6 separate regions of the Homo sapiens genome follow, and regions 2, 3, 4, 5 and 6 are each linked to region 1. Evidence: promoter capture Hi-C in human tissues and cell types (Jung and others, 2019). All regions are on one chromosome and are shown on one strand. Each heading gives the region's core, a stretch centred on a gene start or on the middle of the fragment in contact. The rest is flanking DNA. Distances are from core to core; before and after follow the strand shown. Region 1 holds the start of MIDN (midnolin). Region 2 holds the start of BSG (basigin (Ok blood group)). Region 3 holds the start of HCN2 (hyperpolarization activated cyclic nucleotide gated potassium and sodium channel 2). Region 4 holds the start of KLF16 (KLF transcription factor 16). Region 5 holds the start of ATP8B3 (ATPase phospholipid transporting 8B3). Region 6 holds the start of PRSS57 (serine protease 57).

Region 1 (4,643 bases), core at 1,850-4,349:
GCCCTGTGCAGTGGGGTAGGCAGGGAATTCCAGGGGGGTGAGTGGGGAGGGTGGGCCTGCCTGTGTCACTGGAGCTGGGATGGTGACAGAGAGGCCGCCCCGGGCCTGTCAGCACGGACGGGCAGCTCACTCCCACGTCATGGCACTATGCGGGTGACTTGCCACAGCTTCACTTGAGGCGAGGTGCCGTTGGGGGCCTTGCGACTCTGAGGCCGCCGGTCAGCAGATCAGGTATTCTGGAACAGCCCACGGTCCCCTGCCTGGCTCCCCCTCCACTTGGGCCTCGGGACACGAGTGACCAGGCCCCCACTTCTCCAGGAATCCGCAGCCCAGGGAAGGTTGTGTCAGCCACCAGGCCACAGGAGCAGCCTCTGCCCAGGCCCCCCCTCCCCCCCGCCCCCAGTTCCAGCCCCAGGTCTTCAAGTTCCTGCCAGGCCACCAGGACCCTATAAATAAGACCAAGGGCACAGCTGGGACTTAGCAGGGGCCCAGCGGGAGGAGCTGCTCACTCCGGGGACCTCCCCTGCCCCCACCACCAGGGAGGGTGTGAACCTTGGAGCCAGGCCTCAGGACACCCGAGACACCTGACACTCGGAGGGAACAGCCCGTGCTGGCTGGATGCGTCCTGGAGCAGGAGGCAGTCAGGGTGGGGCCGGGAACCAGGCGGTCAAGGCCCTTCAGTGAGGGCAGCCCCTGGCTTAGTGAGGCAGAACAGAGCACAGGGTTTGTCCCCATCACACCCAGGAACAACCCACTCAACCATGGGGACGCCGAGTATGGGAAATGGTGGGGAAGCGTTTTAGCATGTTTATTCATTTAGACTGGCTCTGGGCATCTGGTCCCCAAAGGGCCACACAGTGGCCCCTGTGAAGCCCAGCAAGTTCCGACAACCCGTGTCCCATTCCACTCCCGACCAGACTGAGGTGATGGTGTCCATTCCACTCCCGACCAGACTGAGGTGACGGTGTCCATTCCACTCCCGACCAGACTGAGGTGACGGTGTCCATTCCACTCCCGACCAGACTGAGGTGACGGTGTGCAGGTGGCAGAGCCACACACGAGAGGCAAGAGGCAGGGAGGGAGGTGGGGGCTGCTGGCCACTCACAGGGGGCCCCAGTGTCCTGCTTGGGCTGCTCATTTGGCACCAGTCCACGGCTCCCTCCGCCACCTTTGTTCTCACTGGAAGCAGAATGAGCCTGGCCCTGTAGTTCCCACCTGGGGCCCCAGCCCTTCATCCAAGCCCCATTCATCGACCCTGCCCCTCCTCCCTCCAACTGGGTCCAGTTCACTAAGCTCCCAGAACTGCTCAAGCCATTCCCACTTCCTGGACCATCGTCTTTTTTTTTTTTTTTTTTTTTTTTTTTTGAGAGGAGTTTCGCTCTTATTGCCCAGGCTGGAGTGCAATGGCACAATCTCAGCTCACCACAATCTCCGTCTCCCGGGTTCGAGCAATGCTCCCGCCTCAGCCTCCCAAGTAGCTGAGATTACAGGCGCACATCACCACGCCTGGCTAATTTTTGTGTTTTTAGTACAGACAGGGTTTCACCATGTTGATCAGGCTGGTCTCGAACTCCTGACCTCGTGATCCGCCCGCCTCGGCCTCCCAAAGTGCCAGGATTACAGGCATGAGCCACCGCGCCCGGCCTTTTTTTTTTTTTTTTTTTTTTTTGAGACGGAATCTCGTTTTGTCGCTCAGGCTGGAGTGCCCTGGCACGATCTGGGTTTATTGTAACCTCCGCCTCCCGCGTTCAAGCGATTCTCCTGCCTCAGCCTCCTGAGTAGCTGGGACTACAGACACATGCCACCATGCCCAGCTAATTTTTGTATTTTTAGTAGAGACAGGGTTTCACCATGTTGGCCAGGCTGGTCTCAATCTCTTGACCTTGTGATCCGCCCGCCTCGGCCTCCCAAAGTGCTGGGATTACAGGCGTGAGCCACCGCGCCCGACCGCATCATCTTTTTTATGTGACAAACTCCTAGTCATTCCTCAAACCGCAGCCCCTGTGACCCCCTTCCAAGGGTTATCCCAGCCTCTCCCTCTCTGGCCTAGCCCTGACCCTTCGGGGCTGGGTGTGCCTGTCAAGGTGGGGGCCACGGCTGCCGGGAGCATGGGTGGCAGCCGGAAGGAGACCTGGGGAGGAGCGCAGCCCTGGGAGGGGCGCCCATGGCCAGGGTGGGGGTGGAGGTGGTCAGGCCAGATAAAGGGAGGGGCCAGATGAGTGGACAGGAGGTGCTCCCGTAGGAATGGGGTCCCCTTCTCTAAATAGAGGGGCAGGACGGGGCCCACCTCAACCAGGACCATCCTCAAAAAGCCGACGGGGAAGGGTGAGATGCACACCACATTCGTGTCTCATTGGCTGTGGCCTCAGTTTCTTCATCTGTAAAATGGGGTAATGCCCACCCCAAAGGCTGGGAACCAGTGCATGTCCTGCATTAATGGGGGGTGATGGCCCCAAAGTGATCCTGCCGCATCCCCTCACCACACTCCCACCCACCCTGGAGAAACTGAGGCTTGGAGAGGCCAGTTACCTCCCGGGGTCACAGCATAGCCGGCTGGTGACTGGCTGGGCACAAGGCAGGCCTGGCACTGGCTAATCGCTCCATAAATGCCCTCTGAGGTCACCATTGACAGATGCAGGAGGCCAGGGCTGGCCAGGGCACCCCCACTCTACGGCAGGTGACTCCAGCCTGTTTTCCTGGACGACAGCCGCTGACTCAGGCCCCTCTTCCCGTCCCCCCCACGCGGGCGCCCCCAGGCGGAAGCACCGGGCCTGGGGCGACAGGAAGGGGGCGGGGCAGCGAGTCGCGCTGTACACCCCAAAACCCTGTCCCGCTGACGATTCGGGGTGCATCTCAGCCCGCGGCGAGGCGGGCCGAGACCCTTGGCTCGGGGCATTCAAGGGGAGTCCCCCCATGAACTGCGCCAAGCCTGGGTCCCGGGTGGCCCAGCCGTCAAGGCGCCCCAGGGCCAGGGCCGGCAGGCAGGGGCGGGGGCCAGTCTGCGTCACCGCCCGCCCGGCCCCCCGCCCCCCTGCCCGCCCTAACTCCACCCCGAGGGAAGGCGGCGCGGATAAAGGCTGAGGGCCGCGCGCTTGGCCCAGACCGGCCCGGCCAGCGCGCATTCGGCCCCGGACGAAGGTACTCGCAGCACTTGGAGCGCAGAACCGGCCGCGCCCGGTGAGTGTGGAGGGGGGGGACCTGCGGGCCGAGGAAGGGTGCCCACTCTAGATGGCTCAGGATGCCCGCACTTTTCTTTGTTCTTGGGACAGGAGGGATCGGGGAGCCTCCGGTCCTGGGAAGCCCCCCGGGGTGCGGGGTGGGAGGGGCTCCGCGCAGCCAGCGCCGCCCTGGCCGGACCTCAGCCCCCGCCCCGCCCCCCGGGGCACTCCCCCTTCACCGCGGGTGACCTTGAACTGGTTGCCGTTCCGCCCTCCGTTGCCCAGCCACACGGTCCCAGTCTCCCGACTACAGTCTTTCGTTCCCGATCGGGGTTCCTCCCCCGCGCGCAGCCCAGTCGTCTTCCTCCCCTGCCAGGGGCAGCGCGGCGCCCCCTCCCCGGGACTCCGGGCGGCGCTCCCAGGCGGGCCCGGCAGAGGGCGCGCCCGAGCTGCTGACTCACCGCATCCCCGAGCGCGCGCGGGCGCAGCCGGGGACGCCGCGTCACGTCACGGCTCGAGCGGGCGCGCCTCGGGGAAACGGGTTCTGCCCGCGGCCGGCGGGTGGGCGCGCGGGGCCCCCGGCGGCAGCCACCCGGCCACGTCACCGAGGTGCGGGCGCCCCGCCCCGGCCACAACTCCGCCCCCACGCACCACGCCCTCCCCGGGGCCGCGGCCCTAGCCTCACCGTCGCCCGCCCGCCCCGGGACCCCGGCCACGAGGCGCGGACTTCGCGCTCCCGCTTCCGCTCGCGGCTTTTCCCGGACGAAGGCGGCGGGGTGGCCCCACGACTTCCTGCCCCTCCCGGCGCCGGGAACAATGGCCCGCGCCCCCTCCCGCTCCCGGCCGCTCCCTTGGGATCGCGAGGGGTACCAGACCCGTCTCCAGACCTGGGTCCCGCGCCCCCCGGGGCGCGCCCGCCCTTTGTTGCGGGCTCCGGGCGCTTATGAATGGCTGCGGGCGCGGGCGGGGCGGGGGCGGGCGCGGAGAGGCGCCAGCCCCGCCCCCGCTGCGCTCCCCTTGGTCGCCTGGGCGCTGGGGGCGGGGCGAGGGGGCGGGCCCGGCTGCCACGTGGGGCGGTGCCGCGGCGGCTCTCATAGGCCCGGGCTCGCGGCCGACTGGGCGCTCGGCGCGCGGCGATTGGCCGGCGCCCGGCCGGCGGAGTAAGTAGTGAATGGGAGGGGGCGGCGGCCCCGCCCCCTGGAACGTTGATACATTATAACTTTTTTTTCTTGTTACTTTCACCCCCAGATCCTCCGAGCGGCGGCGACGGCTGTTGCTAAGGGAGGGGACGCGCGAGGAAGCGCGACCCGGGCGGCAGACGGCACCCAGCGCCACCAGCCGAGCGGCGCCCCCTCCCCAGGACCCTTAACCGCGCCGCGTCCCGGTCGCGCCCGCCGCCCTTTGAAGGAGAAGCAAGTGCCGTCCCCACCCCCGGAAGGCGCCCCCAGGAGCCGGAGCGACCTCGGAGCGCCACTCGGATTTTGG
Region 2 (4,643 bases), core at 1,482-3,981, 680 kb before region 1:
TGAATCATGGTTCTCTCTCTCCTGAGACGAGAGTACTGAGGGTAGACATTAATTCAGCCCAAGCGTACAGCTGTGGCCCCAGAAATTGGTCAATTTGATCCGCGAATCCAAAAGGGTCATCTAACAGTGGTTTGAGTTCTTTTAGATTTCTAACCTCTGAACTGGTTAAAGGGGGCATTTACGAAGTCAATATCCCTTCCTCCCGGTGGTCCTTCCCTAAAGGGGAAAAGGGCTGAGGCAGGTCTTTTTGAGCAGGAGGCAAAAGGAAAGTTCTGTGGGTTTTTGTTTGTTTGTTTGTTTTTTGAGACGGAGTCTCGCTCTTGTTGCCGAGGCTGGAGTGCGGTGGCGCGATCTCGGCTCACTGCAAGCTCCACCTCCCGGGTTCAAGACATTCCCTGCCTCAGCCTCCCGAGTAGCTGAGTAGCTGGAATTACAGGCGCCCGCCACCACGTCCGGCTAATTTTCGTATTTTTAGTAGAGGCGAGGTTTCATCATCGTGGCCAGGCTGCCAGTCCTGAACTCCTGGCCTCGTGATCCACCCGCCTCTGCCTCCCAAAGTGCTGGAATTACAGGCGTGAGCCACCGCGCCCGGCCGAAAGTTTCGAATATCCCTTTGGCATTGTTCTGTTTCCCGTTGGAGCTTTCCTGAGGAAGGGGCATGTTCTAGTGGCTGTCCAGCGGGGATGTGGGTGGCAAGGTCCAGGTGGTTCTATAGGGGAGGGATGGAGGGGCGGAGGAGCGGGTGGGGGAGGGGCGGAGGGGCGAGGGGTGGGTGGGAGGGGCGGAGGGGCGGGTTGGGGAGGGGCGGAGGGGTGGGGTGGGTGGGTGGGGGGGGCGGAGGGGTGGGTTGGGAGGGGCGGAGGGGGTGGGTTGGGAGGGGCGGAGGGGGTGGGTTGGGAGGGGCGGAGGGGGTGGGTTGGGAGGGGCGGAGGGGGTGGGTTGGGAGGGGCGGAGGGGTGAGTGGGGGAAGGTGGTCTAGAGGATCCCACCCTTCTTTAGATATGGGGCGTCTCTGCTAAAAATACAAAAATTAGCCGGGCGTGGTGGTGCGCGCCTGTAATCCCAGCTACTCAGGAGGCTGAGGCAGGAGAATCGCTTGAACCCGGGAGGCGGAGGTTGCAGAGAGTCGAGATCGCGCCGCTGCACTCCAGCCTGGGTGACACAGCGAGACTCCAACACACACACACACAAAAGATATGGCGCGTCTCATTCATTCACAAGTTCCTCTTCAAAGGTTTGGCTCGTTCAGCGCCCTCGTTCTTCGTTTCCTACTTCCAAGGCCAACCTGACTTCCTCACCCTCTGGGCCTCCCCGTCTGAGTCTCAGTAAACAAGTTTCCCGCCGGTCCTGATCTGCAGAGATGGCACCTGCCACCCACTCTGCACATCCCCCTCCCGTCGCCACGGGCTCTTCCCGCCAGTGTAGCCACATTCCTGCCCCTTTCCAGTTAGCCCTTCGCGTTCGGCTTAGTCTGCGGTCCTCTTGCATTGCGACTCCGAGTTTAACTTCCAACACACACTTTCAACCTCCAAGAGACGCCCCCACCTGTGTCGCCCCAATAGCGACTTTTCTCACCGTGGTCGCCGCGGAACTTCAAGGGTCCTTCCTACCCGCGTTGCTGAGAGTCTGGGTTTACGCGTCACCTCGGGCGGGACCCGATCCTCCGCTCCTGAGGCCCCCACAATGAAGCAGTCGGACGCGTCTCCCCAAGAAAGGTAACCGCCAGCCTCTCCTGAAACAGAATGGGATCCAAATGGGATATTTGGGGGCGGCGAGTCGGTCCCGCAAAGAGAAACCAGCACTTAGAAAATTTCTCAGCGAGACCACTTTACTTGTACGGAAGGGGGCTGCCTGCGTGGGATGCAATCTCCAGAGCACACGGGACAAAGGAAGGGAGCTTCTGTTCCTCTGTCCTTTCCCTGTTGGCTGGGGTTGGACGCCCACAATCTAAGCTGATCCCGGTTGGCTAAAACTTAAAACTTTTTTAAAATAGGGTAAACGCGCCACCTGCGAGGAAAGAAGAAGGGGGTAAGGTTGATTGACAACTTTAGACCTGGAAGTTGAGTTTCTGAAGAGGAACTTACTTGTCCCAACCAAATGGTGCACAGGACGTTTATACTAAGAAATTATTCATTTTCTGAGATCCAGATTCAAGTGCCCTTTAAGTATTTTTATTTGGGCGGAGGAGGTCACTTCCTCCCACCTAATTTATTAATACGTTCATATATATATATATATATGTACATTTTTAAAGGCAGAGATGTGCGTCTCGCCATGTTGCCGCGTCTGGTCTCGAGCTCCCGGGCTCAAGCGATCTTCCCGCCTCGACCTCCCAAGGCTCTGGGAGTACAGACGTGAGCCACAGCGGCCGGCCCGTGTTTAACTCAGATAAAATCTGGGTAACACACTTTCAACGCTTCAACCCCCTCGGGCGCACCGCTCTGCGCTCATTGCAACTTTGAAAGCAGGAAGGAAGAAATGCGCAGGCTCCAGCCGCGTCCCCGCAGGCCCCACTCCCGTTTCCTAGCAACGCCGGGTCACGTGCGCCGCCGCCCGGATTCCGTAGCGTGAGCCTGCCGGAGCCGGCGCGTACATGCGAGCGTGTGCGCGCGTGCGCAGGCGGGGCGACCGGCGTCCCCGGCGCTCGCCCCGCCCCCGAGATGACGCCGTGCGTGCGCGCGCCCGGTCCGCGCCTCCGCCGCTTTTTATAGCGGCCGCGGGCGGCGGCGGCAGCGGTTGGAGGTTGTAGGACCGGCGAGGAATAGGAATCATGGCGGCTGCGCTGTTCGTGCTGCTGGGATTCGCGCTGCTGGGCACCCACGGAGCCTCCGGGGCTGGTGAGGAGCGGGTAGGGGGCGGGGGTGCGGTCCTGCAGGGGCCGGGAATGGAGGCCGCGGTGCCGACCCGAAGCCGACGGGAGCCTGGGGCCTCGGCGCGGGGCGGCCTGGGGTGCGAAAGGCCGGCCCCGGGGGCTTCCCGCGCCAGCATGGAGCTTGGGGGTGAAGTCCCAGGGTTTGAGGGGGGACTAGAGGTTCCTCCCGGCGCGGCCTGCCGGGCTCCCCCGGGCGCTCCGGCCTCGAGCCCGGCCTCTGTGTGTGGGCGTGAAGCTCCCTGCTTGGAGGCGGGAGCCAGGGGGTCCTGGCCAGGCCGGTCTTGGTCAGGGGAGGTGGGCGTCTTGCTTTTCGGTCACCTGGGGTTGGGGGTGACCTGCTTCCTGGGTGAGGGCGTCTGCGAAGGCGGTTGGAGGTGGCCCGCCCGCCGGTCCCATCGGCCAGGAGAAGGGAGACCCAAAGCCTGGGTGAGCGTCCCCTTTGGCCTGGAGCCAGGGGTCAGGGGCTGGTTGGTGCCTGCCCAACCCGTCCTGCTGGGGCTGGACTCCGCAGGACCTGGGGAAAGCGGCCTGGGCGTGGAATCTGGAGACGGGTCCACCCTGCCTGCGAGTGTTAGGGTCAGAGACCCTCCCCTGAGACTCTCTGGGGCCCCCGCAAGGGCCCGTGCGGCCTGGAGCGATCATCTTGGCGCTCCCTTCTGGAAAAGGGGCTTTTGTCCTCCAAGAGCACATGGAGGCTCTGAGTGGGTCAGCCCTCCGGATCGGGAAGGGATTACCGTTCTTCACGGGATTTAGCCCTGGCGTCTTGCCTAGGGCGTGCACCTGCCCCCGGGTGTTCTCCCAGACTCTTAAGACCTCGCAGGCTCCCTCGAGGGGCCCTGCGTGGAAGGGAAGGCGGAATCTCCCTCTGATTCTGCCTGGATTCAGCACCCAGAATGAGGTGGTCTCTGAACGCCCCTCCTCCTTTACAGGCGAGGAAACAGCCCTGTGGGAAGTCGAGGTTCCAAGGTCACAGTGAGGGGGCCCTGGCCACCCGATTCAGCGCAGGAAATAGTGAGAAAGTCGTTTTTAGCCGACTCTGACCCGCATTCGGTTTCCAGTGCTGTCTTAGGAGGGCCGTGTGTTGAGGGTGGGCAAACGTGGTTTGGAGAGCGCATTTGGGAAATGGATTGAGGTGTGTTTTTCCGGGAGAAAAGCATGACATCCTTTCTTGCTTCATAGAAAATTTCTTCCTTTGTTGAGACCCCCATTTGGTTCTGGGTTAAAGATTTATAGTGAGGCCGGGCGTGGTGGCTCACACCTGTAATCCCAGCACTTTGGGAGGCTGAGGCGGGTGGATCACCTGAGGTCAGGAGTTCAAGACCAGCCTGGCCAACATGGTGAAACCCCATCTCTACTAAAAATACAAAAATTAGCTGGGCGTGTTGGCGCACGCCTGTAATCCCAGCCACTCAGGAAGCTGAGGCAAGAGAATCGCTTGAACCTGGGAGGTGAAGGTTGCAGTGAGCTGATATCATGCCACTGCACTCCAGCCTGGGTAACAGGGAGACTCTGTCTTTAAAAAAAAAAAAAAAAGAGGTCGGGCATGGTGGCTCACGCCTGTAATCCCAGCACTTTGGGAGGCCGAGGCGGGCGGATCACGAGGTCAAGAGATCAAGACCATCGTGGCTAACACGGTGAAACCCCGTCTCTACTAAAAATACAAAAAATTAGCCTGGCGTGGTGGCGGGCGCCTGTAGTCCCAGCTGCTAGGGAGTCTGAGGCAGGAGAATGGTGTGAACCAGGGAGGCGGAGCTTGCAGTGAGCCGAGATC
Region 3 (4,643 bases), core at 1-2,500, 660 kb before region 1:
CCATCCACTGTCAGCCGGGCACATGCTGGCCCTCCCTCAAGTACCACTGAGTGCCTCCTGGGTGTAGGAAGAGGGCCATCTCTGCCCCGGTGGCCTCGAGGTGCAGATGGGTGGGGGGCACCCGGCACACGGGACATCGTGGCTGAGAGGACGTCAGGCCAGGTGCCAGGAGGGTCCCAGGAGGGCCTCCTGCCTCCAGGTGGGGATGTTCAGCCTCCACTTCTTCGAGTGTGACTGTCTGTCTCCTCTCTCTCACTTGCCAGCTTCCTCACCTGCCCCCTCCCGGCTGTCTGGTGGGCTGGGTGGCTAGGGACAGAGGCCTCATGTCACCTGGCACCAAGCAGCACCCACGCCCAGCCGGCTTCGGCCCAGAAGCAGAGCCTTGGGAAGCACCTGTCTCAGAGCTGGGGACTGGAGGCACTGGGGGCACAGCTGCACCCGGAGTCCGAGGGGTCGGGGAAAGGAGGCAACCCCGGGGCAGGGGGCTCTGGTACCCGTGCGAAGGCGCTAGTGGGCTTTGGGTCTCCCTGTGACCCCAATCTAAAGCCCACCAGACCTAGAGGAGACCCCCGCCGCACGGCTCCCCAGGGCACTGTTTGAGGGGTGGGTGGGAACCCCACACCCTCGGGTGGCTTTTCCAGTTTTCCTTGTCTGGCTGGGCTTGGCCTCAGTTTCCTCAAATGCAGACCAGGGAGAGGAGTGCCTGAGTCTCCCAGAACGGCGCCCAAGCCGGCCTGCCCCTCCCCACGCACTCAAGGGTCTCTGTCCAGGGCCCACAGGCGACCCAGCAAGGGCTCCTGTGACCTTTAGAAACACCCTTTCGTCGTGGAAGTCTTCAAACCTCACAGAAAGCAAGGAGGCGCTGGCCGTGGCGGCCTCTCCCGTCTCCCAGGCCCGCGTCCACCCTCCCCGCGCCGGTGCCCTCCGGACAGAGGTGGAAGCCGCGGCGCAGGAGAGGCGGCTCCGGCCGGGCAGCGGGGCCCGGTGACCTTGGGCGCGTCCTTACACGTCGCGGGCCTCAGTTTCCCCTCCTGGGGAGAGGCCCGCGCGGGGCTCCGAGGCCTCGGGCCGCGTGACCTTGGGGCGCCCCCGACCCCGCGGCCCGAGTTTCCCGGCGCCGAGCGGAGGCGGCGCGCGGGGAGGGGGCGCAGCCGAGGCGGGTCTCCCGCCCCCGCCCCTCCCCCGCCCCTCCCCCGCCGCGAGGCTCCGCCCCCCGCGGCTCCGCCCCGCCCCGCCCCCGCCTCCCCCCTCCCTCGGGCTCCGGCCGGCGGCGGCGGCGGCGGCTCCGCTCCGCACTGCCCGGCGCCGCCTCGCCATGGACGCGCGCGGGGGCGGCGGGCGGCCCGGGGAGAGCCCGGGCGCGACCCCCGCGCCGGGGCCGCCGCCGCCGCCGCCGCCCGCGCCCCCCCAACAGCAGCCGCCGCCGCCGCCGCCGCCCGCGCCCCCCCCGGGCCCCGGGCCCGCGCCCCCCCAGCACCCGCCCCGGGCCGAGGCGTTGCCCCCGGAGGCGGCGGATGAGGGCGGCCCGCGGGGCCGGCTCCGCAGCCGCGACAGCTCGTGCGGCCGCCCCGGCACCCCGGGCGCGGCGAGCACGGCCAAGGGCAGCCCGAACGGCGAGTGCGGGCGCGGCGAGCCGCAGTGCAGCCCCGCGGGGCCCGAGGGCCCGGCGCGGGGGCCCAAGGTGTCGTTCTCGTGCCGCGGGGCGGCCTCGGGGCCCGCGCCGGGGCCGGGGCCGGCGGAGGAGGCGGGCAGCGAGGAGGCGGGCCCGGCGGGGGAGCCGCGCGGCAGCCAGGCCAGCTTCATGCAGCGCCAGTTCGGCGCGCTCCTGCAGCCGGGCGTCAACAAGTTCTCGCTGCGGATGTTCGGCAGCCAGAAGGCCGTGGAGCGCGAGCAGGAGCGCGTCAAGTCGGCGGGGGCCTGGATCATCCACCCGTACAGCGACTTCAGGTACCGCCTCCGGGAGGGCCGGTCGGCGCGAGGGGGCCCGGGGAGCCGGGCGCGCGGGGAGCCGTCCTTGGAGCGCCTGGGGAGGGCGGGGCGGCGCGCCGGGCCGGTGACCTCGGGGCTCCTCGGTGACCTCGGGCGTGTCCGGGACCCGCCCCGGAGTGACCCCGGCGCGCGAGGCTCCGCCTCTGGGGGGGCTCCCCGGGTGACCGCGGAGCGCCCCCCTCCCACGCACCCCGACATCCTCCGCCCTGCGGCGCGGCGGGTGGGGTGGGCCGCAGGGCCAGGGTCTGAGCGCAGAGGGGCAGAGAGGACGAATAGAGGGGAACGTGGGCCCCAGAGAGGCGGCGGAGCGGGAGGGAGGAGGAACGAAGGGCGCCCGGGAAGGACGCGCCCCAGGGAGGCCGGGGGAGAGGGGGTTAAGCGGCTCCCACGGCGTCCACCCGCGCCCCGCCTGCGAGGAGGCGCGCCCGGGGCCGCGGGCCTGGAAAGCGTGCGGGTCCCCAGGCTGTGTCCCCGGGAGCCGCTCCACCCGAGCCGCGGGCGGTGCGCGCATGCGGCGGTGGGTGTGTAGACGCCGCTGTGGATCCAGCCGGCTAATGCGTGGAAGGCTCGGAGCAGGGCCGGCGCGGGGCCACCGCCACTGATGTTTGCGGTCGTGGTTCCTGGGCTGTGCGTGCTGTGGCCGGAGAGCGAGACCGGCGCGTGTCCCCGTGGGCTGTGTGTGAACAGGGGCCCGTGACCGCGGCGGGGTTCCCGGGGCGCGAGCCTGTGGCCGGAGAGGTGTGTCTCCAGGAGTGTGTTTGCGTGGTGGTCGCGGGCGTGTGCGCCTCCGGTGGGTTTATTTTGGTGGGACGTGTGGTTTGTGTGTGTTGGGACCAGGTGGCGGGCGTGCGCGTGTACGCCCGGGGCCGGTGTGCACCGGTGGGCAGTAGTGTGAGCCGCAGGCAGGTCTCACACACGCGACCATGGAGGGATGCGTGTGTGTTTGTGTATCCACGAGTGGGGTGTGAGGTGGGGTGTGGAGGGTGCAGGTGGAGGGTGTAGGTGGGGCCCGCCGGGCTAGCGAGGCCGGGCGCGCGGGACGGGCGCGGTTTCAGCACCACGGACAGCGCGCCGGACCTGGGAAGCCTGCGGTTTTCCCGCCTGTCTCTCCTCCTCCAGGCCTGGGCGCCCCAGGACAGCCCCCACGGACCCTGGACCCCCGGAACTGGGCAGGGAGGCTGTGGGGTTCTCTCTTCCCCTGGATTCTCTGCACCCCTAGTGCTTGACTGGAGAAACTGAGGCCTGGGGCACATGCGTCCTGGACAGAGCCTGGAGGAAGGCCCTGGAATCCTCCTCCCACCCCAGGCCTTCCTGAGAGGTGAATACAGCTTTGACCAGAAGCCTGGATTTCGAGACAGGCCAGGGGTGGGAGGAGCCCCGAAATCCCCAGAGGGGCTGTGTCCGGCCCCTCCCACCCTGCCTCTGTGCCCCACCGGGAGAGCTTGGTCAGCATCTGGGCTCTGGCCTGCGAAATGTGGACAGTGAGCGGGAAGGACTGGACTTCCAGGGCTGCTGGTCGGCCTGGCCCCACTTCCAGTCGGGCAGTGGCACCCCCTGACCGGAGAGGGACGCGGTGGAGAGGGAGCTGTAGAACGTGCCCACTCCCCTCCGTCCCCTCCAGCATGACCTTCGACAGAGATGGGTGCACCGCAGCGTGGGGGCTGGCAGGTGGAGGCCCACACCAGCCACTCCCTCCCCTGGGCAGCTCCAGCGACCCCCTGGCTGCAGAGGGGCGGTCGGTGGCCTGGGGGGCAGGTGGGCAGATGGCTGATCCCGGGGCTTGGGGGGAAGGCCGGTGGTAGGAGTGAAGCCCTCTCATCCTTCCACCCTCCTTGGGCGTGGTCGCCTGGAGGCCTGGGCAGGCTGTGGCCCCGCTCTGTGCTCTGAGGCATAGAGGGCTCAGAGGCCCCTGTGTGGACCAAGTGCAGCCCCACCCCGGCAGATGAGTGTTGAAGTGGAACTGAGCAGGCAGGGAATGGGGTTAGCGGGGCCTGTCTTCGGGACTAGGGGAGTCACGGCAGTCAGATTTTAAAAAAGGATTTCGATGTTGCCAAGCTGGGTGCACGGGGCCCCTAGGACCCTCCCCAGGCTTGGGACCTGTGCCAGTGTGGAATCAGTGTGGAAAAAGACCCCCAAGAATATCTCAAAAGCTCCCTAAGCAGGCGGCCGGACCCTGCTGTGGAGGGTGTTTTGGGGCAGCCCACAGCAAGCGAAGGGGCCTCTACGTTTGCAGCTGACTCAGGAGCCTGGCCCCAACTGGCTTCGGGCCCAAGGCCTCCTGTGCCTGGCTGGGTGTCTTGGGTCCTCGCTGGGCCCCTCTGCCTCAGTTTCCCCAATTGCACGGTGGGGATGGTATGAGGGAGAAGGATGGGGTCTTTCACAGCCTTGCCAGTGTCTCAGCCTCACGTCTCACACTCTCTTCACCTCCCCTTCCTGCTGAGAGAGTGCTGTGCTCCTTGCCCAGCCTGTGCCCCCCAGGCACGCCCTCACCCCGGTTCTTCCTCGCTGCCCAGCTGTCTCCGCCACGCCCAAGTCCACCCTGCTCCCGTGCTCGGAAGTGGCCTCTTTCACGCCCCACGTCCCAGTCCCAGTATACAGCAGGTGCCACATATTTGCTGAATTTTCTGAGGGGCAGAGCATGGGTCCTGGGCTGA
Region 4 (4,643 bases), core at 1,063-3,562, 610 kb after region 1:
GGAGCTCTCAGGCCACGCCATCTGGCAAGAAAAGAATGACCTGGGTAGACAGGTGGGAGTCGCTTTCCCAACAGGCTCCCACTTCAGCCCCGTCTGTTCAGATCGCCCAACTTACCCCCAAAAAGCCAGGGCACTCCTGGACCCCTGCCCACCGCCCGGAGAGGCACCTCCCTTTCTGTTCCCAACGCTGCCTCGCCATCTTCACAGACCCCCAATGTCCCTCCCCGCGGAGATACACGGACCCCATTGCCCTCAAAAAGAGGTAACACCCTGGGACCCCTCCGCCGAGGATGTGTGGCTCCTCGCAGAAAACGCAGACCCCACCCAAGTCCTGTCTTGACGCCCTCGGTTCCCGTCTGTGTCTCAAGGTGGGCAGAGCCTCCAGGCCCCTGGGACCAGGACAGGGACTGAGCGAGGGGTGAAAAGAGTGCAGAACAGAGAGGGGGCGGCCGGCAGGCTACACACCACCGCCCCCACCCGCCCTCCTGCTCTCCACCCTCAGGCGTCCCAGCGCGGCTCCCCATACCCCAAAGATGGACCCTCAATTCTTCCGCAAGGCATTCGCGGCCCCTGCTCATCTCAGCCCCACCACTCTGGACGGCCCACTTCCCTTCGGCTGCTCCACGTGTCCCTACAATCCGAGCCCACGGACCAAGCCTCCTTGGAGTGTCCAGCTGCCCAAAGCGGCCACCGCTATGGCTATGAAATAGAGGCAGCATCGCACTCTTGATAGAAATGAGAAAATTGAGACCCAGATCGGGTAGAGGTCTTCTGTTTGGTGGCAAGGCCAGAATGCCAAGCCCAAGGGCAGCCGCACAGCTTTCCCCCAGCCCCCCACCCTCCCCGGAAGGGACAAGCACCTCTAATGCCCAAACCAGGGCCGGCCATCAAGGCCCACCGTCCCCTGTTGCCCAGTCCAAACTCCCAGTCCAGAAAGTGGAACCCTAGGAGGGGACGGAGTGAAAAAATACAGCCAGGCCCACCAGGCTCCCGGTTCCCCTCGCCGCCCCGGGGACTGCGCTAGGAGGGGCGTTGGTGTAGCCGAAGCGCTCCAACTACGCGCACCTTCCCGAATCGCCCGCCAGGTAGGGGTGAACAAACACGCCAGGGAAATACAGCAGTGTGGACCCGAGCCCCTCGAGGGTCCTCCAATACTATGAAGTTCCCCCGCCCAGACTCAGGCCCCAACCCGCGCTCCTAGCCTCGCCCTCCCCCTCGTTAAAATACAGAGAACGCAGAGAAAACGTGCCGGGCTCCCCCCATCCTGGCCCCACGCCAGGTGCTCTGCCGACCTCTGGGGAGAATCCGCGCGGCCACCCCGGCGGCGGCGACGCGGTTCCTCCTCCATTTTCACAGATAAGGAAACTGAGGCTGGGGGAGGGGGAGAACCCAGAACCCCAGAGCCGGATGCTCCAACCACGGTGCCCACCGCCCAGACCAGAACGCAAAAGAAAAAAAAAAAAACGGAACAAGGCCCAGAAAGGGAGAGAGGTGGTCTGCCCAGGAGTCTCAATCCCGCCCGCAGACCTCGCTGGGCCCCCGGAGCCCCCGCCACTGCCGCCGGGGCGGCCATCCGCTCGCCGCCCGACCGCGTGGCCGCCACGCCCCCCGCGCGCGCCCCACCCACCGAGGCCCCGCCCTGCCGGCCGGCGCGGCGGCGGCCCGGGCGCGCCCCCCTCCCCGCCCCCCACGCGCCACGCAGTTTCGGGGTCCTGGCGGGGGAGGGGTCTCAGGCGGCCGCCCCCGCAAGGGCCGGGATCGCGGCTGCACTCACCTGTGTGCGTCCGCAGGTGCGACTTTAGGTGCGAGGACTTGTAGTAGGCTTTGGCGCAGTCCGGGAAGGGACAGCGGTGGCTCTTGGCGGCGGCGGAGGGCGCGGCGCCGGGGGCGCGGCCCGAGGACGGGGACGAGGCGGCTGAGGAGGAGGAGGCGGGCGAGGCGCCCCCCGGGGCGGCTCCGGGTCCGCCGCGCAGGTCGGCCAGGATGCTGGCGGCCAGCAGGTGGGGCGCCGCGGCGGCGCCGGGGCCCGGGCCAGAAGCGGCGGGGGGCGGCGGGGGTGGCCCCGGGGTCCCGGGTGAGGCGGCCTCGCGGCGCGCCGCGCGCACATCCAGGCCGGCGGCGGGGCCCGCGCCCTCGGGGCCGGGCCGCCCGCGGTGCACCACGGCGCCCGAAGAGATGGCCATGAGCACGTCGGCGGCGAAGTAATCCACGCACGCCACGGCCGCCGACATGCCGAGCAAGGGCGCGCGGCGCGGCGGGCGGAGCGGAGGCGGCGGGAGCGGCGTCCGTCCGGCCGGCGGCGGCTGCTCGAGTGCGGGAGGCGGAGGAGGAGGAGGAGGAGGCCCGGCGCGCGCCGCCGCCGACGCCCGCGCTCGGCCTGCCCCGCCCCGCCTGACGCGTCCTGACGCACCGGAGCCCGCGGGGGCGGCCACAGCCCGCCCCGCCCGGAGGACGCCCCCTCGGGGCGCCGCAGCCACGCCCCCCGCCCGGCGCGCCCTCCACCACTCTCCGAGCCGCGCGCGGCCGCCGGGGGCGGGGCTCGGGCCGGAGGAACCCGCCCCCCGGCGCGCCCACTCCGGCCTCCGCCAGCGCCTAGCGTCTTAGGCCCGGAGCGCGCCTTCTCCGCGCTAGGGTGCAAGGCCGGGAGCCCCGCCCCCTCCCGGCGCGCCCCACTCCAGCGCGCGCCCCCGTACCCTTTCCCGGAGCACCACCCCCTCAAGCCGGGGCGGGAGGCCGAGGACCCCGCCCCCTCTCCGGCACGCCCCTCCTTCCGAGAGCGCGCCCCGCCCCATCCCGGCACGCCCCTCCCTCCCAGAGCGCGCCCCGCCTCCTCGCTGGCGCGCCCACCCCACGCCGGGGCGCGCGGCCGGCGGGAGCCCGCCCCCTCCCCGGATGCTTCCCTCCTGGCCCCGGGCGCGCCCCCGTTCGCGATGGAGGAGGGCTCCGATCCCCACGTGGCCGGGGTTGGAGGGGTGCGGAAGCGGCCGGCCCCGCCCCCAGGCCACGTGCGCGACCCTTCCCCCCTCTTCTCCCGGCCTGGGGCCCTGCTTTGACCCCGCACTCAGGCATCTGCTCGTCCTCTTCTCTGGGGTTCCCCCTCGCCGCTCACAGAGCCCCTCGGAGCCTCCCGGCCGAGACACCCGGTATCCCGCGCCCGCGGCGGGGCCCGGGAGGGTGGGGCAAGGCTGCGTTCGTTCCTCTTTTTGCACCCAGTTCCGGAGCTACTAGAGCGCGCCCCACTGGGGGTGGGGAGGGCCGGTTGGGTCCCAGAGGGTCGGGATAGGGGGACGGGAAGAGGGGGCCGAACGCAAAGGGCTGGGCTGGGCTGGGGGCGCCTGAGCGGGTCAGAGGTTCCCCGCCCTGCTGGGACACCGGGGTCCGGGGCTTCTCTTTCCATTCCCAGGCATCGATTCTTGGGGTTCGGACGGGAAAACTGAGGCCAGGTATTCGGGCCTCCCGGCCGCGAGGACGTCCAGGCCAACTTGTTAAATATTAGGGGGGACACCAGGGACGCGGATGGCCCAGTTCGCAGGCCCAAGGCGGCGGGGGCACAGAAACTGGGCGGCCCCCCTCGGTCGCGACCGCGCTCCCGCCCCTTCCCAGCTCCGGCGGGGCGGCGGGGACTGCGCAGTGGCCGGAGCTGCCTCCAGGGGGCGGAGCTGCTTTGGCCTGCGGCGACCTCCTGCTCTGGGTTGGGCATGGACAGAGGCCCTGACCCGATTCGGGGCTTCTCTAGCCCCATCCCCCGCCCACCTGCAACCCCAGCTGACGCCCTGAGGCTGACCACTGTTCCCTGGGTCGCCCGCACTGCGCCTGGGCTCAACCATGCTTGGTTAAGCCAGCTGAGCCCTCCCTGGGCCCCAGTAAGCCCACTCTACGTGGCTGGACAGAGCGGAGCCGAGAGAGAGGAGGTTCAGCGAAGTGTGGGAGGGTACAGGGTGCCCTGCACACACTTGCCCCTCTCCTAGGCCTGGGCTCCAGAGCCCTCTCTGCACCCCTACCATTCGGTGGGCGCTGGGGGTCGGCGTTCCTGCTCCTGCTGGGCCTCTGTTGTCTTTGAACTTCTAGGACGATGGGCCACTTGGGCAGGTCCCCCAGGTCCCCACCATCCCAGCAGCCCCCAGGGTCCTGGAACCCCGCATTGGCTTGTGGACAGGTGTGTCTTGAGGCCTCAGGGTCCACACCCAACCATGCGTCTTCCACTGATGTTTCCTGGGCTTAGAGCAGAACCAACCAGCCCTGCCCTCAAGGGGCTTACAGTTGTAACTGGGAGGCTAACGATGGGGGGCAGGGGTGAGCAGCCTCCAGGGGTGGGCCACATGGCCCCAGGCAGGACCTTCACTGTGAGACTCCATTGTCTGCCCACTCCAGCCATTATCAGGGTTTCAAGTGAGTGGCCTCATCTGCAGGTCATGCCAGCCACTCCACAGGCAGGAGACCCCAGGTGAGGGCACACAGCCCACACCCCACCCATGAGGCTTCTATTCACACCCCTAAGCCCCAGGAACACTCAGGCAACCCATGACCCCTGCGGTGAACACAGACAAACCTCCAGCAGCGCCCGGCACAGGGCTCTGTCCTCTCTTCCTTACTCTCTATGACCCTGTAAATTCTCCACCGGGTGCGGTGGCTCACGCCTGGAA
Region 5 (4,643 bases), core at 792-3,291, 560 kb after region 1:
AGCCCGTCTCAGCCTCAGCCCTGCACTTTTTTCTTTTTTTTGAGATGGAGTCTCGCTCTGTCACCCAGGCTGGAGTGCAGTAGCACAATCGCAGCTCACTGCAACCTCCACCTCCTGGGTCTCCTGGGTTCAAGTGATTCTCCTGTCTCAGCCTCCCAAGTAGCTAGAATTACAGGCATACGCCACCACGCCCAGCTAATCTTCGTACTTTTAGTAGAAACGGGGTTTCTCCATGTTGCCCAGGCTCTCGAACCCCTGACCTCAAGTGATCCACCCGCCTCAGCCTCCCAAAGTGCCGGGATTACAGGGGAGAGCCACCACGCCTGGCCAGCCCTGAACTTCATAATCCCTCCCACCTGCACCGCCCCCTCTGCCCAGGATCAGCACCTGAGTTCCTGTCCTCATCTTGGAGATCTTCTCTCTGGCCGAGGCTGCCCATGCTGGTGGGGCTGTGGGAGAGAAGGGCCCCGGGTCACAGCAGTGACCCCAGCCCTTGCTGGGCACCACTCGGTCTTCAAGGAGCTCACAGCCTAGGGGCCGACCCTCTCAAATGCTACCTCCCACACTCATCTGCAGCCTCCCCGCCAGGCTCTGAATGTCCAGCCATAGGCTGTGTGTCTTGCCTTGGACATCCTGAGACCTAGGGGACCCCAAGATGATCCTCAAACCTGCAACAGCCCATCTGCCAGTGTCCCCCGCCAGCCACCCTGGTCGCCTCCCGCCAGTACAGCCTAGAAGGACTCTACCGCCAGCCATGCCAGCCTCTGGCCATGCCAGCCTCCGGCCACTGCTCCCCACACCTCGCTTTTCCTGAAAGGACCACTCTCACCTCCTCCTGGTTTCACTGACGGCCTCCTGCCCCTCTCCCCATGTGGCACCAGCTTAGGGGCTCAGTCATCTGTTCACTGACTGAATGGGACCCCCGGGCTATATGTTATATCTCAAAACACAGCATGAGGGTCAGGCATGGCCACTCCCCTCCTCACCCCCCCAGGCTGGGCAGCAAACTCTGATGGGGGCGATGGAGGCAGACGGACATCGTCAGAAGATCCTGGAATCTTCTCCACTAGCAGGTTCAGGAATGTGGGTCTGGCTCTAGCCCTGCACCGGGGGCCCTGGTTTGGCCCCCTATGAGGATGGGCAAACCACCCCTAGACGCCAGCAACTGGCCCCCCACCTGCCAGCTCTCTAGCAGTGCCCTCCCCGCCAAGCCCCTGCCCCTGTGTTCCGGCCACCCGATGCACCCGTCCTCACCCTTCTGGTCTCCATTCATACTTCCTAGCCCGGCCAGGCTGGGCCTTGTGCCTCCTCTCAGGTGCCCCTCTGCCTGGGGAGTCTCCCATCCCAGCTCTGATCACCGTCTCACCTCCGCGGATGCCAGCAGGACCTGAGCCTTCCTGAGTCACGTCTGAGTCACCCGTGTCCCCAGGTCCTGGTGGGGCAGGGCTTGGCTCAGGGCCAGCTCTGGTGCTCCTGGGAGTCTGAGCGGGGCCAGTGCCCATTCACCGCATGAGGAAAAGGGAGGTTCAGGGCGAAGAGGGGTTTAGGCTGTGGGACGGGGGAGAGGTGGGGGAGACCCCCGTGGGGGCAGACTGGGGATTGGAGAGTTGGAGAGAATGCTCAAATGGCCAGAATCCACTCGAAGTGTATCTGGGGGCAGAAAGAGACACGGACACAGCGCTGGCTTCCTGCCCCCTCACTAACTGGGATGCCCCATTACTCGGAAGCCCCCCACCCCGTCTTCCCGCAGCCGCAGGGGCACAGGACCGCCCTGGACAGGGCTCCAGAGTCCAGGGCTGTCTGCACCCGCCCCGGGGCCCCGACCGCGCGAACCTCTAGGGGCGCGCTCTCCACCCCCGCCGCCACGACCCCAGCTCTCAGCCTGGGTGGAGCCCAGAGAGGGTGCGCGGGCTCCCGGGGACGCACAGCAGTGGGAGCACCCGCCGCTCACCGGCGCAGGAGAGGCAGGGGGGGGCAGGCCGCGGGCGTCCAGGGCGGCGGACGTGGTGGAACCGTTAGCCCGGTGCCAACGGTCCTGAAACGGGGGGCGGGATCTCGGGGCGGGGCCTCGGGGCCCGGCCAAGGCGAAGGTGGAGCCAGTTCGGACCCCGGAAGGGGGCCGGGGGCGGGGCCTGGAGGGGGTGGGTGGGGCCAAGGCGAAGAAGGGGCGGGGCCTCGAGGGTGGGGCCGAGCGGAGCACGGCCGAGCAGGATGGGGGCCAGGCCTCAGGGACGCGGTCACGGCCGAAGGGCGGGGCCTCGCAGAGCCTCGCAGAACAGGCCGGGATAGAAGACGCTCGGGAGCAGTGCCTGGGTCTGGGGAGGGGCCGGGACTTTGGGGAAGGGACTAGAAGGAAGGCGAGGACGAGCGGGGTCTCGCTGAGCAAAGTCAGAGTAGGGGCGGGGCCAGGACTCAGGGGCTTGGCCAGAGCGGGAAGCGGGGTTGAGCATGGCCTTGCGGAGCAGTGTTATGGTAGGGGCGGGGCTGGGATCCGGAGCCGTTACAAAGGAGGAAGGCGGGGCCGCGCAGAGCAGGGTCAGGGTAGGAGGGCGCTCAGGGTGGGTCCAGGACAGAAGGCAGGGCCTTGGGAGGGCCTTAGGGAGCAGTGCCAGTGCAGGGGCGGAGCCTGAAAGGGAAGAGGGTGTCAGGGCAGGGCCGGGCCGGGCTTGGTCAGGGAGCAGAAAGAACCTGCACCGCAGGGCGGGGTTGGAAGGGTTCTTGGAAAGGTGGGCCTGGGTCAGGTCGGAATGGGCCTTGCAGACCTGACGGGGCTGAGGCTGGTGCGGCCAGCGTGGCAGAGTGCAGGAGGAAGGACCACAGGTAACGGCGGTTATGTAAGTCATGTCTGATCCGTGTCCTGGGTTCGTTCATTCATCCCATACACGTTCAACGAGCGCCTCCTAGGCGCAGATGCAGGGCTGAGCACCAGGCTGGGGAGAGGCGGTTATAGCCATTGAGACCACCCTAAGGCCAAGAGGAAGCCCGCAGGGTTCTTTCCAGCAGGTGGCAGGGGCTCAGGGATCCTTACTGAAGAAGTGGCAGGGGTGAGTTCAGCGACGAGGCTAGGGCGGGTCCAGGCCAGCGATAGGGCCTGGAGCCAGGGTCAGAAAGTGTGTGCGGAGGGGCTGCTGAAGATGAAATGCCCCCAAGAGTGAGGCTACCTGGGGTGAGGGCCCAAAGGGAGAGGCAAACATGGGTGGAGGGGGATAGGGAAGCCACCTCCCCCATCAAAGCGGCAACCACCTGAGGGCTCTCGGTGATCACAAACCCTCTTTCTTTGGAAGCCCAAATTGGAAGCCTGCTTGGCCCTGGAGGCTGCCAGGGAACCTCTCTTTTTTTGGAGACAGAGTCTCACTGTGTCACCCGGGCTGGAGTGCAGTGGTGCGATCAGAGCTCACTGCAGCCTCCACCTCCTGGGCTCAAGCGATCCTCCTGCCTCAGCCTCCAGAGTAGCTGGGACCACAAGCAGGCAGGCAGGCCACTGTGTTTGACTTCTCTCCTTTCATTCCTTCAACACTTCCCCTGTGCTTGCTTGCTTGCTCAGTGGTTACGAAAAAAAGCCGGGGCTGGGAGTTTGAACACACTGTTCTAATAAACTTTAGAAGAGACCTGGTTGGGTGCAGCTGTGAGGACCAGATTCCCCCACCCCAGCCTTCGCAGGGGGCACTATCTGGGGGCAGGAGCTTGCCCAGGGCACTTGTGCAAAGGCCCTGAAGCCTCCAGTGGCAACAGGTGGCTTCACAAGCTGAAGGGAGTCCCTGGGGGCTGAAGCCAGGGCTGGCCAGCCTTGGGACCCCCCGTGGGCTATGTCCTGAGGCACCAGGTGCGTTCTGGGAAGGGGGAGGCAGACATCACATGGGAATGCACAGAAACAGAGCGCATACACGCCTGCGCCATTTATTTAGAACACAGAGCCGGGCACAGTGGCTCATGCCTGTAATCCCAACGCTTTGGGAGGCCGAGGCAGGTGGATCACTTGAGGTCAGGAGTTCGAGACCAGCTTGGCCAACGTGGTGAAACCCCATCTCTACTAAAAATACGAAATTAGCCAGGTGTGATGGCACAGCCATAATCCCAGCTACTCGGCAGACAGAGGTTGCAGCCAGCTGAGACTGGGTGACAAAGCGAGACTGTGTCTCAAAAATAAAGAAGAAAAAGAAAACAACTCCTTTACAGAAGAGGTGGGAGAGTCACTAGTCACAAGAACAGCCCTCGAGGGTGGAAGGGCCTGGCCTAACCACGGTCCCCCAGGAGGGCCCTGGAGAGATGCAGAGCCCAGAACCGGGAAGGGAGCCTTGGGATGGAGTCCTCTGGGGAGGGCCCCCACGTCCTCATCCCGGGACCTGTGCCCTTGGCCTTGCCCTTCAGCAGAAGCCCAAGACCAGGGTGGCAGGAAACCCACTCCAGGCAACCTGCCCCCAGCTGCTGGGTCCTGTCCCGCAAGGCTCATCACTTTTTCTACTTGAGGTCAATAAAAAGTGGGGCCTAAACACCCCTGGGCCTCCCATTTCCAAATGGGGTCCCGATGCAACCACAGTTGCCCGAGACGTGCGTGCACTACACAATGTGTGGCGTTTCCTGGCAAGGGCCGGAGCAGCTTTCCGTGTCTGCACTCCATCCTTTGACGGGCAACACACAGCAGC
Region 6 (4,643 bases), core at 1,534-4,033, 550 kb before region 1:
GGCCTCCCAAAGTGCTGGGATTACAGGCGTGAGCCACGGTGCCCAGCCCCCAACTTAATATTATGATAATAAATTAATAATTATGTTTATTATTTTTCCTACCTCCAATATAGAATTAACTGCAATAGTTGTGGTATTAATTTGAATCATTATTATAAAAACATATTTAGAATGAAGATAATACTTATTATATTTATTATAAGTTCTATTTCAATTATAATATTAACTACAGTAATTTCAATATTCTCCTTTTTTTATTTCTTTAATTTTTTTTTTTGAGACGGAGTCTCGCTCTGTCACCCAGGCAAGATTGCAGTGGTGCAATCTTGGCTCTCTGCAAGCTCCACCTCCCGGGTTCACGCCATTCTCCTGCCTCAGCCTCCTGAATAGCTGGGACTACAGGCGCCCGCCACCATATCCGGCTAATTTTTTGTATTTTTTTTTAGTAGAGACAGGGTTTCACCGTGTTAGCCAGGACAGTCTCGATCTCCTGACCTCGTGATCCGCCTGCCTCGGCCTCCCAAAGTGCCGGGATTACAGGCGTGAGCCACCGCACCCGGCCTTTTTTTTTTTTTTTTTTTTGAGACAAGGTCTCACTCTGTCACCCAGGCCGCAGTGGTGTGATCACAGCTCACTGCAGCCTCGACCTCCCAGGCTCAAGCGATCCTCCCACAGCAGCCTTTCAAGTAGCTGGGACCACAGAAGCACAGCTCCGGTGCGGAGGACTCTGCGGGGAGGAGGGGGTGGGTGAGATGGGGGTGACGGCTGCCCGTCTGGGCCTCAGTCCACTCATCTATGAAATGGAGGCCCAGTAATCCATTTAATGCTCACGCCGGCCCCGTGATAATATTAGGTTGGTGCAAAAGTAATTGCACGAAAAAAATTAAATGGCAAAAACCACAATTAACTTTTTTTTTTCCGACAGAATCTCACTCTTTCCCCTAGGCTGGAGTGCAGTGGTGCCATCTCGGCTCACTGCCACCTCCACCTCCTGGGTTCAAGTGATTCTCCTACCTCAGCCTCCCGAGTAGCTGGGGATACGTACAGCCACTTGCTACCATGCCCAACTAATTTTCGTATTTTTTTTTTGAGACAGAGTCTCGCTCTGTCCCCCAGGCTGGAGTGCAGTGGCGCGATCTCGGCTCACTGAAAGCGCCGCCTCCCGGGTTCACGCCATTCTCCTGCCTCAGCCTCCTGGGTAGCTGGGACTACAGGCGCCTGCCACCACATCCGGCTAATTTTTTTGTATTTTTAGTAGAGATGGGGTTTCACTGTATTAGCCAGGATGGTCTCGATCTCCTGACCTCGTGATCCTCCTGCCTCGGCCTCCCAAAGTGCTGGGATTACAGGCATGAGCCACCGCACCCAGCCTAATTTTCGTATTTTTAGTAGAGACAGAGTTTCACCATGTTGGCCAGGCTGGTCTCATACTCCTGACCTCAAACAATCCACCGTGTCCCAACGTGAGGGGGACTGCAGGCTGGCGGGGGAGCTGGGGACACTGCAGCCCAGGACCAACCTATCCCGTGCCTGGTGGGGGCTCCTGCAGGAGGGGACCCACCCACCCTGGCCCCAATATACATTTTAATAGTTATTATAACAATATGTTTAAAACGAGGCAGGGCATGGCGGCTCACACCTGCAATCCCAGCACTTTGGGAGGCAGAGGCGGGTGGATCATTTGAAGTCAGGAGTTCGAGACCAGCCTGGCCAACATGGTGAAATCCAGTCTCTACTAAAAATGCAAAAATTAGCCAGGTGTGGTGGTGGGCGCCTGTGATCCCAGCTACTCGGGAAGCTGAGGCAGGAGAATCGCTTGAGCCCGGGAGGTGGAGGTTGCAGTGAGCCGAGATTGCACCGTTGCACTCCAGCCTGGGGAACCGAGACTGCCTCAAAAAAAAAAAAGAACATAGTGACAGTTACAGTAACAGAATATGTACTTGTTGCGCCTGTTGCTTCTTCTGTGCTTCTTTTGCCTCCCTGCCTTATCCTCCTGTTTTCCCTTTGTTGCCCTTTAAATCCAGCCCCTGCTGAGACTCCCCCTCCTGCAGGAGCCACGGCGCCCCCAGCTCCCCCACCAGCCTGGAGTCCCCCTCATGTCGGGATACGGTGTCCAGAAAGAAGGGGCCCGACAGGTGAGCTCACCTGTGGCTGAAGCAGTGGGCGGCCGAGACCACCCAGCGGGCTCGCAGCAGGAAGCCTCCGCAGTGATGTTGGCCCCCGAAGCGCACGGATGCCATGTAGGGCCTGGAGTGGGGGGTCACCTCGTGGCCCCCGATGATCTGGGCCCCCCAGGAGCCTGCTGGAGGGACGGCCTGAGTCAGGGACGAGGCGGGAGGAACGGATGACGGGGCTGGGGTCAGGGCAGGGGGAGAAGTAGCGGCCAAGACAGAGACAGGGGGTGAGATTAGAGACGGAGAGACCCAGAGAGCTGGAGACAGAGCCCAGACAAGCCCCCCAGATGCGCTGGGAGGGGCTCCCGAGCCCGGGAGATCCAGGGCTGGGCTGGGCAGAGACCCCGGCCGGATTTCCATCCATTTCCAGCAGAGGCAGCCACGGGGGCTCGGCAGATGGAGCAGGTGGAGCTCTCCCCAGGGTTCTCCCGGGACTGGGGGTTCCCGGGTGTGGCCCCCGTACGGGGACTTGGCGGGGGCCTGGGTGGGGATCCCGGGGGGCTCCTCACCGGGGGGCTTCACGGGCAGCATCAGGGCGGTGGCCACAGTCAGCAGAGGACGTCCCCAGCCCCTCAACCCGAGCCCCATGGCAGACGCAGGCTGGCGTCTCCCCGCAGAGGTCTTCGGGCCGTGGCTCCCACCCTCAGCCAACGGCCGGAAAGGGGGAGCCTGGCTGTGGCCTGTGGTCGGGAGGCCCCACCAGCAACGCCTGGAGCCCAGGCGGGCGTTTCTGAGAAATCGATGGTCTCAGGTGGTGGCTGGTAATAATCATGTTGATAATAATCATTGTCCCCTAGTCCGGAAACAGGGAGAGGAGGAGACAGCTCTGGGGCTGCAAGTGACCTCGGGAAGGCAATTGACCCTTCTGTGCCTCAGTTTACCCAGCCTCCACGTGGCCCAGCATGTGTGGGGAGCTTTCCGAGGAACCGAGGTCACAGCGGCACTCGAGACCCGCAGCTCGCCTCCGGCCCCCACCCCGCAAACCCCAGTCTTCCCATCTCCAAACCCAGGGCCGACCTCAGGGCTGTGGGGACAGCGAGGAAGGCCGGTCTCCTGGGAAGCTCTGATGATTTCTGCCTTTATTTTATTTTATTTTTATAGGTGGGGTTTTGCTATGTTGCCCAGGCTGGTCTCGAACTCCTGGGCTCCAGCGATCCTCCCTCCTCGGCCTTCCAAAGTGCTGAGATCACAGAAGACAGCCACTGCACCTGGCAGATTTCTGCCTTTATTCAGCAGTTATTGAGTGCCTAGTGTATACCAGACCTCATGCTAGGAGGTGAGGATGAGGCAGTGACCGCACCCCAGCCTGTAGCACTGACGTTCTGTGGGATCCGGAGTCCAGTGGGACATGGCTGTACATGGGGGTCTTCACCTTTTTTTTCTTTTCTTTTTTTTTTTGAGATGGAGTCTTGCTCTTGTTGCCCAGGCTAGAGTGGAATGGCACCATCTCGGCTCACCGCAACCTCTACCTCCCGGGTTCGAGTGATTCTCGTTCCTCAGCCTCCCGAGTAACTGGAACTACAGGCGCCCGCCACCACAGCCGGCTAATTTTGTTTCTGTATTTTTAGTAGAGACGGGGTTTCACCATATTAGCCAGGATGGTCTCGATCTCCTGACCTCATGATCCGCCCGCCTCGGCCTCCCAAAGTGCTGGGATTACAGGCATGAGCCACGGTGCCCGGCCTTTTTTTTTTTTTTTTTTTTTTTGAGAAGGAATCTTGCTCTTGTTGCCCAGGCTAGAGTGCAGTGGCGCGATCTTGGCTCACCGCAACCTCTGTCTCCTGAGTTCAAGGGATTCTCCTTCCTCAGCCTCCTGAGTAACTGGGATTACAGGTGCCCACCACCACGCCCCGCTAAATTTGTGTGTTTAGTAGAGACGGAGTTTCTCCATGTTGGTCAGGCTGGTCTCGAACTCCCGACCTCAGGTGATCCACCTGCCTCAGCCTCCCAAAGTGCTGGGATGACAGGCCTGAGCCACCGCGCCCAGCCCGGCAGGTCTTCACCTTTCAGTGGGAGCGTTCTTAGTGGCAAAGTTCAGGTCGTAAATTGCAGCTCACACAGCCGGGTGATGGCGTTCACGGCAGTGGCTAGCAGTGGGGTGCTCGTCAGCGCTTAATAATGAACAGGCTGGGGCCGGGTGCAGTGGCTCACGCCTATAATCCTAGCACTTTGGGAGGCCGAGGCAGGTGGATCACCTGAGGTCAGGAGTTCAAGACCAGCCTGGCCAACATAGTGAAACCCCGTCTCTACTTAAAGTACCAAAATTAGTCAGGCGTGGTGGCAGGTGCCTGTAATCCCAGCTACTTGGGAGGCTGAGGCAGGAGAATCGCTTGAACCGGGAGGTGGAGGTGGCAGTGAGCCAAGATTGCACCATTGCACTCCAGCCTGGGTGACAGAGCGAGACACCATCTCAAAAAAAAAAAAAAAAAAAAAGTCATCATTGAACGCTCCAGACCTGTGTTTTACCAA

Evidence for each region. Contacts are between HindIII fragments. The study calls those that stand out against the background at their distance.
Region 2: the fragment with the promoter of BSG here is called in contact with the fragment with the promoter of MIDN in region 1 in 3 of the 25 tissues and cell types used here (dorsolateral prefrontal cortex, lymphoblastoid cells and small bowel).
Region 3: a contact is called between the fragment with the promoter of HCN2 here and the fragment with the promoter of MIDN in region 1, in 1 of the 25 tissues and cell types used here (lymphoblastoid cells).
Region 4: a contact is called between the fragment with the promoter of KLF16 here and the fragment with the promoter of MIDN in region 1, in 4 of the 25 tissues and cell types used here (dorsolateral prefrontal cortex, lymphoblastoid cells, spleen and 1 more).
Region 5: a contact is called between the fragment with the promoter of ATP8B3 here and the fragment with the promoter of MIDN in region 1, in 1 of the 25 tissues and cell types used here (heart left ventricle).
Region 6: a contact is called between the fragment with the promoter of PRSS57 here and the fragment with the promoter of MIDN in region 1, in 2 of the 25 tissues and cell types used here (IMR-90 fibroblasts and lymphoblastoid cells).

Annotation. Positions count from the first base shown.
Region 1 is chr19:1,245,484-1,250,126 of GRCh38, forward strand. MIDN (midnolin) reads left to right here and starts at 3,100. Exons shown (of 9, transcript NM_001388306.1): 1 at 3,100-3,177; 2 at 4,407-4,643. LOC102723811 (a long non-coding RNA gene) reads right to left here and starts at 2,589. Exons shown (of 2, transcript XR_007067082.1): 1 at 2,530-2,589; 2 at 785-2,378. RefSeq lists enhancers at 496-1,241, 3,177-3,710 and silencers at 2,554-3,093, 3,184-3,643, 3,704-3,823, 3,854-4,323, 4,504-4,553 and 1 more. The HindIII fragment of the contact is 34,576 bases long and covers 1-4,643 here.
Region 2 is chr19:569,865-574,507 of GRCh38, forward strand. It overlaps BSG (basigin (Ok blood group)), which reads left to right and starts at 2,732. Exons shown (of 9, transcript NM_001728.4): 1 at 2,732-2,837. The coding sequence starts at 2,771. BSG-AS1 (BSG antisense RNA 1) reads right to left here and starts at 2,384. Exons shown (of 3, transcript NR_184018.1): 1 at 2,245-2,384; 2 at 1,576-1,732. RefSeq lists enhancers at 980-1,552, 1,633-1,682 and silencers at 2,503-2,722, 2,893-3,072. The HindIII fragment of the contact is 13,063 bases long and covers 1-4,643 here.
Region 3 is chr19:588,631-593,273 of GRCh38, forward strand. It overlaps HCN2 (hyperpolarization activated cyclic nucleotide gated potassium and sodium channel 2), which reads left to right and starts at 1,251. Exons shown (of 8, transcript NM_001194.4): 1 at 1,251-1,947. The coding sequence starts at 1,316. It also overlaps the pseudogene LOC100420586. RefSeq lists an enhancer at 1-20. The HindIII fragment of the contact is 14,322 bases long and covers 1-4,643 here.
Region 4 is chr19:1,861,267-1,865,909 of GRCh38, forward strand. KLF16 (KLF transcription factor 16) reads right to left here and starts at 2,313. Exons shown (of 2, transcript NM_031918.4): 1 at 1,775-2,313. The coding sequence starts at 2,231. RefSeq lists enhancers at 1-741, 3,849-4,403, silencers at 1,556-1,725, 1,776-1,955, 2,286-3,385, 3,456-3,675 and a promoter at 2,202-3,406. The HindIII fragment of the contact is 11,768 bases long and covers 1-3,347 here.
Region 5 is chr19:1,810,235-1,814,877 of GRCh38, forward strand. It overlaps ATP8B3 (ATPase phospholipid transporting 8B3), which reads right to left and starts at 2,042. Exons shown (of 29, transcript NM_138813.4): 1 at 1,952-2,042; 2 at 1,255-1,650; 3 at 388-449. The coding sequence starts at 1,502. RefSeq lists enhancers at 1,550-2,295, 2,676-2,835 and a silencer at 1,756-2,125. The HindIII fragment of the contact is 30,703 bases long and covers 1-4,643 here.
Region 6 is chr19:692,669-697,311 of GRCh38, forward strand. It overlaps PRSS57 (serine protease 57), which reads right to left and starts at 2,784. Exons shown (of 5, transcript NM_001308209.2): 1 at 2,684-2,784; 2 at 2,146-2,299. The coding sequence starts at 2,762. The HindIII fragment of the contact is 19,970 bases long and covers 1-4,643 here.